2 separate regions of the Homo sapiens genome follow, and region 1 is linked to region 2. Evidence: promoter capture Hi-C in human tissues and cell types (Jung and others, 2019). All regions are on one chromosome and are shown on one strand. Each heading gives the region's core, a stretch centred on a gene start or on the middle of the fragment in contact. The rest is flanking DNA. Distances are from core to core; before and after follow the strand shown.

The links. Contacts are between HindIII fragments. The study calls those that stand out against the background at their distance.
Region 1: a contact is called between a fragment that was not itself captured here and the fragment with the promoter of TRMT11 in region 2, in 1 of the 25 tissues and cell types used here (adrenal gland).

What each region holds. Positions count from the first base shown.
Region 1 is chr6:125,836,555-125,841,535 of GRCh38, forward strand. The region is part of intron 2 of NCOA7 (nuclear receptor coactivator 7); the gene reads left to right. Among named protein-coding and RNA genes, the nearest start is that of NCOA7-AS1, 20 kb to the left of the region's middle. The HindIII fragment of the contact is 5,608 bases long and covers 421-4,981 here.
Region 2 is chr6:125,982,905-125,988,206 of GRCh38, forward strand. TRMT11 (tRNA methyltransferase 11) reads left to right here and starts at 3,636. Exons shown (of 13, transcript NM_001031712.3): 1 at 3,636-3,718. The coding sequence starts at 3,647. RefSeq lists enhancers at 2,859-3,689, 3,667-4,156, 3,690-4,519. The HindIII fragment of the contact is 9,309 bases long and covers 1-5,302 here.

The DNA of each region.
Region 1 (4,981 bases), core at 1,975-4,474, 150 kb before region 2:
TTCAAAACCGCCTTTAACTCAGCCAAAATAAAGTCCAGCTGAGTTTTCTTATGGCTTAATGCAGGAGTATGGAAATCCACAGGAAATTTGGATGACTATTATTCCAACATTACAAATGTTCAAGAGAGTTTTAGAAACTGTATTGAAATTAAAAGGAATGCCTGGGAGCAGAACATTTAAAACCACATAAACAAGTACACATCTATGAGAAATTACCTTGCCTTTTATCAACAACTACTAAAAAATAAAAAAGAACACGTAGTAAAATCAAAGCAAAACTTTCTTGGTAAAGTCTGCTACTGGAGAGGGTGCTTGATAACTTAGTTAATTTCATATTAGGAAGTTGGTTGCACCTGTGTGTGCCAGGTGACATATTAAGTATGAAGAAACATTTATGATAGGAAATTCCAGCTCTCCATTTGGGGCAAAGTGTTCAAGCAGTGGGGAATTGTTAGGTCTTGGGGTAGTTATCTCCTCACAAAATACCTTACATTATTCTTTAAATTAGATAAATGTTGAGTGAAGTTTGATTTCTCTCATTGTATGTGTGTAAAGCGACTTTGCTTGAGAAATTAGCCTAAAAGTCTATGTAACATGGTCTGATTCAAGGTTTATATCAATTTATGAAATTTGACATAGATAACTTATAATTAGCCTGCTTCATCTTTCCCGGATTGAAGTTTGTTTCTCATTCATTCATTCATTCATTCATACATGCTCCACCTTTAAGGCATCTTCAGAAAAGTACACGTGTGTCACCTGTGTATAACCAGCCATGCCTTGGTCCAGTCCCAGGATTAAGTCACATTCAAAGAAATAAGTATATCAGAGAAAATAATTGAAAATAAATATTTACTTCACCTTTCAGAAAACATCCAAGGGGGTAATAAATGCCATATATTTGATAAAACTTTAAAATCCTCTTTCTCCATCTCTCTGACCTTTTACATGTCTCTCAGCTACTTCCCCAAACTCTTTCTCCTTTTTGAAACCCTTCCCATATCCAGTCAGTGTATCTCCTCATGTCCTTACCTTTTCCCCTTCTTTCCTTTTAGGTTTATTTTCTTCTATTTCTTCTCTCACTATATTTCTTTTTCCACTTCTCCCCCTAATTCATTTCCCACACCTGTGTTCATAAGCTCAGAACCAGGAAAAGGAAACAAACCCAGAGTTCCCTTAGGAGGCAGCATGAGGAAGGAGGCTGAGATCATCCATATGCTATTATATTTTCTCATCATTGCACTTATTAAAGAAATTACGATATACTATTTAAAAATGGAAAGTCCAGACCAGGGAACATATAAATTGGCATGAAAAATGGGACAGTAAATTGCATGCTGCTCTTAGTTGTATGACTGATGCAGAACTACTTCATGGTCGGTGTTAAAAAGGGACTCCTTCCCATATTTCTTCCTCTTAATGAGTAGAGCACACGCCAGTCCCTTTGATAACAAAGCCCTTCCTAGTCCTTAACTCTCTAGGGGCTAAGGAAAAACTTCCCCTTCACCCTCTGAAGCTTCACTGAAAAATGAACTCATAAAAGGCAGATTAATAAGAGAGAAGCATACAATTTTTTTTTAACATTCATGAGGAGAACCCAAGTGTTTGGGAGACCATGAAGTGTTTACCCAAGCCTACAATGGGGTGCAGAAGCTTCTATACCATCTTGAGGTCACGGAAAGAATGGGGCTCAGGGCATGGCCAAAAATCAAGATTACAGTGGCAAGATAGATTATGGGGAAGGAAAGAAGAGGAGGAGGCCTGGCTTGTGAAGGTAGTCTTGTTATACAGATGAAACCTGATAGGTGGCAGCCATCAGAGAGGATAGGTGGTAAATGCTTCTTTCAGATCTTTAAAGGTGTCCGACTCTCAGTTAAATCTTTCCTAGATCAGGACAAGGGAAGACCTGGCTGGATTGATGCAAAACTCCCCCATGAAAGACAGCTTTGCAGGGGTACTTCTGTTTGCAAGCCCTCTGAACAGCCATCTCAAAACATGTCAAAGAAGCATATTCTGGAGTGAAATGCTTTTATTTCCTTCACTAGAGGTGTTCTCTGGTTCTCCAACACCAGTTGAGTGTCCAACAATTCCATTCAATTTTGACACTAACTTCTCAGAGTTAGCCTCAGACTCCACAGATTTAAGAGCTCTGTTGTAAGTCCCAGGTCCCCAGACCACCTGTACTTTTGTCCACCTTGACTGCAAATTTGGGGTTTCCCATGACCGCCTCCTCAGGTTTGAGAGTTCACTAGAACTGCGCAGGGGACTCAGGAAAACACTTTTCTTACACTTAACCAGTTTATTATAAAGGATATAACTCAGGAACAGCCCAATGGAAGAGAGGCAGAGGGCAAGGTATGGGGGACTCAGGGGTGGTAGGTTGGGGGATTCAGGGGTGGTGCCAACAAGCTTCCATGCCCTCTCTGGGTGCACCACCTTCGCAGACGCATAGTGTGTTCATCACCCTGGAAACTTTCAGAACTTCGACATTTAAGGGTTTTTCTTGGAGGTTCATTACCTATGCATGATTGATTAAATCATTAGCCCTTGGTGATTTTTGTTTGTTTGTTTGTTTGTTTTTGAGACAGAGTATCACTCTGTCACCCAGGCTAGAGTGCAGTGGAGCAATCTCAGCTCACTGCAACCTCTGCCTCCCGGGTTCAAGCAATTCTCCTGCCTCAGCCTCCCAAGTAGCTGGGACTGCAGGTGCATGCCACCACGCCTGGATAATTTTTGTATTTTTAGTAGAGATGGGGTTTCACCATTTTGGCTAGGCTGGTCTTGAACTCCTGATTCAAGTAATCAGTCCAACCTCAGCCTCACAAAGTGCTGGGATTACAAGAGTCAGCCACTGCGCGAGGCCTAGGCCTTAGTGATTTAACTCTATCTGCTGTCCCCTCCCCTCTTGAGAAGTGGACTGTCGGGTGGGGCTGAAAGTTCCAACCTTTTAATCCTGGCTGGATCTTTCTGGTGGCTAGACCCCATCTAGAAGCTCTCGAGGCACCTCCCTCCCTCCGCAGCTTTGAGTCATCTCATGAGAATACAAAAGACGCTCTTTATCACTCACGAGATTCCAGTGTTTTAGGAAGTCTGTGCCAGGAACCTGGGGACAAAGACCAAATACAGTAATGTTCCACATAAGCCACTGGCCTCATTTATGATGGTGGTTCCATAAGATTATGATGGGGCTAACAAATTCTATCATCCAGTAACATTGTCACCGTCATAGTGCAACACATTACTCAGTGATGCTGGTGTAAACAAACCCACTGTACTGCCAGCTGTGGAAAAGCATAGTACATACAATTATTTACGGTACATAATACTTGATAATGATGATAAATGACTGTGTTACTGGTTTATGTATTTACTACACTAGTTATTATTATTTTAGAGTGTTTTCTGATTATTAAAAAAAAAAAGCTAAACAGAACAGCCTCAGGCAGGTCTTTCAGGAGGTGTTCCAGAAAAAGGCATTGTTATCATAGGAGAGGATACTTCCCTGTGTGTTATTGCCCCTGAGAACTTCCAGTGGGACAGGATGTGGAGGTGGAAGACAATGACGTTGATGTTCCTGACCCTGTGTAGACCCTCTGTGTTTATGTCTTAGCTTTTGACAAGTTTAAAAAGTAAAACAAAAAAGTTAAAAATTTTAGAAATAGAAAAAAGCTTATAGAATAAGCATATAAAGAAAATATTTTTGTATGCTATACAATGTGTTTATATTTTTAGCTAAATATCAAAAAGTTATTTAAAAACTGATAAAGTAAAAAAGTTATAGTAAGCTAAGGTAGTTTATTATTGAATGAGGGAAAAAATTATATAAATTTAGTGCAGCCTAAGTATACAGTGTTTAGAAAGTCTGCAGTAGAGCACAGTAAGCACATTTACTCACCACTCACTCTCTGACTCCCCAAGAGCAGCAACCATACATGGTAAGGACCCTATACAGGTATATCATTTTTTCTTTTCTTTTTGAGACAGGGTCTTGCTCTGTTGCCCCAGATGGAGTGCAGTGGCATGATCATAGCTCACTGTAGCCTCAAACCTCCCAGGCTCAGGTGGTCCTCCCACCACAGCCTTCTGAGTAGCTGGAACTACTCAGGATGCCACCATGCCTGGCTAAATAAAAAAAAAAGAAAATTGTAGAGACAGGGTCTTTCTAGGCTGGTCTTGAAACTCCTGGGCTCAAGCAGTTCTTCTGCTTTGGCCTCCCAAAGTGCTGGGATTACAGGCTTGAGTCATCGTGCCTGGACACCATTTTTTAATACCATATTTTTATTTTACCTTTTATGGTTTTTTTTGTTTGGTTGGTTTTTTTTTTTTTTTTTTTTTTTTTTTTTTTTTTTTTTTTTTGAGACAGAGTCTCAATCTGTCACCCAGGCTGGAGTGCAGTGGCATGAACTTGGCTCACTGCAACCTCTGCCACCCAGGTTCAAATGATTCTCCTGCCTGAGCCTCCCGAGTAGCTGGGATTACAGGCACCTGCCACTGTGCCCAGCTAATTTTTGTAGTTTTAGTAGAGACAGGATTTCACTTTGTTGGCCAGGCTGGTCTTGAACTCCTGACCTAGAGATCCACTGCCTCGGCTTCCCAAAGTGCTGGGATTACAGGTGTGAGCCACCGCGCCTGGCCTACCTTTTATGTTTTTACACCTGTTTAGATACACAAATACTTACTGGTTACAACTGCCTACAGGATTCAGTACAGTAACATGCTGTACAGTTTTGTAGCCTAGTAGCAATGGGTTCTACCATATAGCCTAGGTGTGTCATAGGCTATTCTATGTGGGTTTGTAGTAAGTATATTCTATAATGTTTGTATAATGACAAAATCACCTAATGACACGTTTCTCAGAATGTATCCCTGTCGTTTAGCAAGGCATGATTATATTTATTTATTTTTTGTTATACCACAACCTGTGGTTGGTTAAAATCAAACTGGTAACTTGAGAGGTGGCCATTGTTGGATTTTTTTTTAA
Region 2 (5,302 bases), core at 2,386-4,885:
AGCAGGTCTGGGAGTCGGGGAGGATTCTGTATTTCTAAATGGCTTCCAGGTGATATTGATACTGCCTGACCTAGGACCACACTTTGACAACTCCTGCCATAAGTAGTGCTTAAATTTGGCTGCACATAAAATCAACAACTGGGGAACTTTTAAAAATCTTTACGTCAAGGCCATACACCAGCCAAATAAAATTTGAATCACAGGGGATAGATTCCAGGCCTCGGTATTTTTAAAAAACTCCTCAGGTAATTACAATGTGCAGCCAAGTTTGAGAACCTGTGCCCTATAGGATTAAGTACAATTCCCCTTTGGGCCTTGTTATGGTAGACTCTCAAGAAAATCTCTTTTATGGGACCTGAGACTGACTATACGATATATAATAATTTTCCTACTCATGGGAAGCAAATAGGAGCAAGAGATGAGGATTACTGGGAGTTGTGGTTAAACAAGAATCTGTGTGATTTAACAAGCGTGTAGAAGATGACAGGCATACCTACTTTAAATGACTTGCCAGAAGCTTTTCTTTGTTTAGAAATCATGATTGCTTCTGATTTAAGGAAGGAAAGGAGGACAAAAGACGTGGCTCAAATGAGGCAAATGTACTGTAATCTTTGTTACCTCTGGTTCACAAGTTCTGCCAAGGGAAGTAATAAATGGCATCCCATTCAAAGACTTACTGGGTCTCCAGCCTGTTTCCCTGCACATATTTTTCTATGCATAGAACCTGCTTTCCAGGTAGCAAATTAGAGGGCATCGTTTGTAACTAGGGCTTCAAGTTTGTTTTGGGGAGTCTTTAGAAAAGAGGATGGGATCTACATTTCTCTGCTTCTGGGGATCTTGTTGGAAATTTGACCTCAAGTAGCTGAGTCATACTTAAATCAACTCCAGCTGCTTAAGTCTGAATTGGTGCCTCAGAATTCCAACTCATACAGGCTTGTTTCCTTAGAGTAGGCAGTATTATTTCTCTCTTTTCCTAAATTATTTTCATTAAGATTGACAAGAGGGGAGACCCCTCTGGGACATCAAGAAATTCAAACCTCAGTAATGCTCTGCTGCAGTAAAGTTTGTGCAATTCTTATATAACTTATTCCAATAAAATTTTATTCTCAAAACTATTCAGAAGCCTCTTTTTACTAATTGCAAAAATCATAGTCTTAATACATATGAAGATAACTTTTCTCCCTCTTATTGGTGTACAAATCCCTATGGTTCTCTGTGATACCTAGACCCTTTTCAAGTGTTAGATGTTCAGCCTGAGATAGATGCATGGGCAGTTTTGATATTACATGTGACCTCTGCTGCTGGGACCTGTTAACTTTCTATTCATTTCTCTGAGTGTGTCCTACTAGCCTCAATACTTAAGTGGCATATTAAAACCAAAACTCAAAATTCCCCTTTCCAATTTCTGATCCTTACTTCCCAGGAATGTCCTCTGATTTTTTAGTAACAGGCGGCCTATACCAGAGGCTTTAACGTTTGCACAACAGCTGTCTCACAGAAGGAGACAGGTTCTAAGAGGTCTGCCCTAGAAGATGGAACATGGATGGAACTTTGGATCAGTTCCCAGAAGCCAGACTATGAACCTCCTTGCTCCTTACAGTACAAAAAAAAAAAAAAAAAAAAAAAAAGCAAGTCTCTGGATGCAGTTTGATCACCAAATTCCAAAGTCCTTATTCTCCTGCTGCTTCTTAACCACTCTTGTAAGCTCAAGAACTTTGAACAGGTCTGGCTGTGAGTCCCTCAAAGGCAGTTTCACTGATGTCACAGTAGTTCCACACTAACTCTAGTGGCCTGTGCAAGGTTAATCTCTACTTCTCCAGACCAGGTATCCAACAATTTAGATTCATGATGTAAATACTCTCCTGCTGGTTTCTGAGGTGGAGATTTAGTATAGATTTAGTCCTGAACTGTAGCACAAAGGAGCTGGGTGAAAAATCAGTGACACCTGATTCCATTTGGGTTCTCCAGGCCTTGTAGTCTCATTTGTCTCTATATAGCATCATATTAATCCAGGCATGAAAATCAGCAATTCTTTGATATTCTCTATAAAGTTGCCCCATCAAAATTCCATATTAATTTTGCTGAAGATTTGACAAGTTCTGGGGATGGGGCATATCAAGTACTGCACATCATTTCCCCAACATCTCATTGGTTTTCTGTCCCAACCTTGGCCTCTCTTCTCAAATAGTAAACAACTTTTCTTGTCTCAAAGTACTTTTACCCCCTTTTCTGAAGTTTTGGGGTCAAGAGACAGCTATGCTTCTCAGAGTCACTTAGCACAAGTGAACTTGAGACATATTCCTAACAAAAACAGATCTCTTGCTAACAAAAATTCTCATGTGATTTTCTTAAGAAAAATGTCAAGTGCCACTTATTGGCCCCATTCAATATGCCAGATGTTATATTCAACACTTTATGAACATTATTCCACTTAATCCTTGTAACAATCCTTTGCAGGAGGCAGTGTGTTTTTCCATTTTTAAAAGAAAACTCAAGCTCGGAGAGGTTAAGAGCATATACATGGTAAATGGTGGAAGTGAGGTTTGAATCTAATATTGACACCACAGCCTATGTTCTTAATCACTACCACTGCGCATCAACTACGTTTCTGGCACATGCCGCTGGGGATATGCCAGATACATACTCTTTTGCACCTTGTACAATACCACAGAGAAATGCAAAATAAATAATTTTTAATAGGGCAAAGGGCTCGGTACTCTCAAAAGCAGAAATAGCCCAGAGGGAGGGCTTGAGCCCGTAATTCTAGCACTTTGGGAGACTAGGGTAGGAGTATCCCCTGAGACCAGGAGTTCAAGGTTACAGTGAGCTATGATTGCGCCACTGCACTCACCTGGGTGACAGAGCAAGATTGTCTTAAAAAAAAAAAGTCACATATATACATAGAATATGCAATTAAAATATATTTCATAAACTATCTGCTATGAAATCTGTGCCAGTGTGAGCTTTCTCCAAGTTTTAATTTATGGCTGGCTGTGGATTTAGTCCTGAGTCTAACAAATAACACAACCTAATAATTATTGCCTACTTTGAGGAAGATATTCTTTTGGTTTTTGTTAAGAATAGAGTGAACCATAAAAGATTATATCAGACCTCAAGAGTTTATTATAATTGGGTTATAAGGCATGTGCTCTCGAAAAGTTGTTACATAAATACGAAAAATATACTGTTAAATGACTGGCCCAACTAAATCAGTTCCCAAAGCTGTGCTGGTTAGACAAACCTACAAGGAAATGGTGAAATTTCCAAGGAAATGGTGAAATTTCAGTCCAATTTTGAAGAACAGGTTTTGAAGGGCTGTAGAGAAAGCTGGAAGCACACTCCAAGTGGAACGATAACTTGGAAATATACTGTCTTATTATCACAGGCTGCTCCTGAAAGCCACGCGTCCCCGCTCACCAGCTACCAGCGCTGGGAGACCCCTAACCACCAGGCATTCACAGGTGAGGAAGCCCCTCCCACAGCGGCCGGAGTTTCGGACTCGGAGCGCGAGAAACGTCGGGATAGCGCCTGCCTCGCAGAGCTTCCGCTTCCGGCCCTTCAGGCTCTGTCTCTGTGGAGACTGGGCTTTGGGAGGGAGAAAGAGGGACCTAGCGCGGGCCGCGCAGGCGCACGGTGGGCAGCTGCAATGGCGCTGTCGTGTACCCTTAACAGGTATCTGCTCCTCATGGCGCAGGAGCATCTGGAGTTCCGCCTGCCGGTGAGTCCGTAGCGCCCTCCGGAACTTCCGACGGAAGAGGACGCTGGAGTGGAGTGGAGTGGGTGGAGGTGATCTGCATAGCCCGAGGAAGCTGGGATTCGGGGGTCTTCGCTGGTCTGCGCGGGTCACGCGTCCCCAGTCCTCGGGCGGGGTGAGCTTGGCGGAGGGTGTGTGTGAGAGAAGTCCGAGACCAAACCCCTCGGCCTGCTTAAACTTTTCATTCTTTTGCCCGTGTATCAAGTACCGGAGTTAGGCAGGTGAATATGACCGGTCATCTCACTCCCGGAGCTCTTCGTCTAGCGGAGAATAGAGACAGCTAACAAATGCTCAGGCTGGTGTTTGAAGTATTGGAATCTGCGGATCAAGCTCAGTGGAGGGGATGGTGGTGGGGATTAGATGATGGAGAAGTTGAGAAGAGTGTTTTATTTATTCAAGAAACGTTTTCAGAATGCATGTAGTCGAAGATCGGTACGCTGGGCATGTAACGATGATGTAAGCAATCTCTGCCCTCTAGGAGCTTACTGTTTAGAGTAAGGGCTGAGCAGACACATAGGCGTAGAATGACAAAAGAGCGTCGGTAAGTGCAGTGATAGATGCACATGGAAATATGAGAGCACGTGGAAGGGAAATCTAATCTACCTGAGGGGTTGGGGATGTTGGCCTTTAAGAGGGCTTCCAGAGGAGATGACACTTGAAATAAAGGATGAATAGGAGTTAGAGGGCCAAGGAGATAAATCAGTAAATTAGAATTACAAGGTGTTCATTATTACTGGATCACTAGTTATGTGGCAGAGTGGTAAGAAGAGAGCAAGGGAAGTAGATCGAGGCCAGAAAATGAAAACCTTGAGTACCCTGGAGCTTGGAAGGGGGATTTATTGAAAAGCCTTAAGTAAAAAAGTGACCACAAAATTAAATCAGTTTGACAACACTATGGAGGATGGATTTGAAAAGAATAAGACTTGAGCCAGAGACTAGGAGTCTGTGGGAATAGTCTTGTTAATAGATTAAGAAGGTCTGACCTAGGGCAAGGAGTAAGAGGATGGGATAGACTGGGAAAATATTTAGGCCATACAGTCATTAAGGCTGGATTGATTGAATATGTGGGAAAGGGGCACCAGTCAGGTATGACTCCTGGGGTGTATATAGGTAGGAGTGTCTCCATTTAAAATAGAGAACATAGGCAGATGTAAGATTTAAATTTTGTTTACACTGAATTTGATGTGGTTGTGTAACATCAACCTGAGATGACCAAGAGGCGGTGGATATATGAATATGCATAGAGTATGGCAGAGTGATCTGGACTAGTGATAAATATTTGGGAGTCTTCTTCATATGAAAACTAGGAGCGGGGAAGAAATTACTCAAAGGATAAGGTCAAAAGAGTAGCGGGCCAAGTATAGATGCTTGGAAGCATTGATATTAAGGGAAAGTCGGAGGAGGCCATGAAGAAGATGGGCAAGTGCCAGAAGGATGTGAGACCGCAGAAATCAGAAGGGTAAAGTTTTAGGAAGCAGGGACAAATGGATAAATGTCGAATGCAGTTGCTTTTTAGTGAGAAAAGAATGAAAAAGTGTCATTGATAGT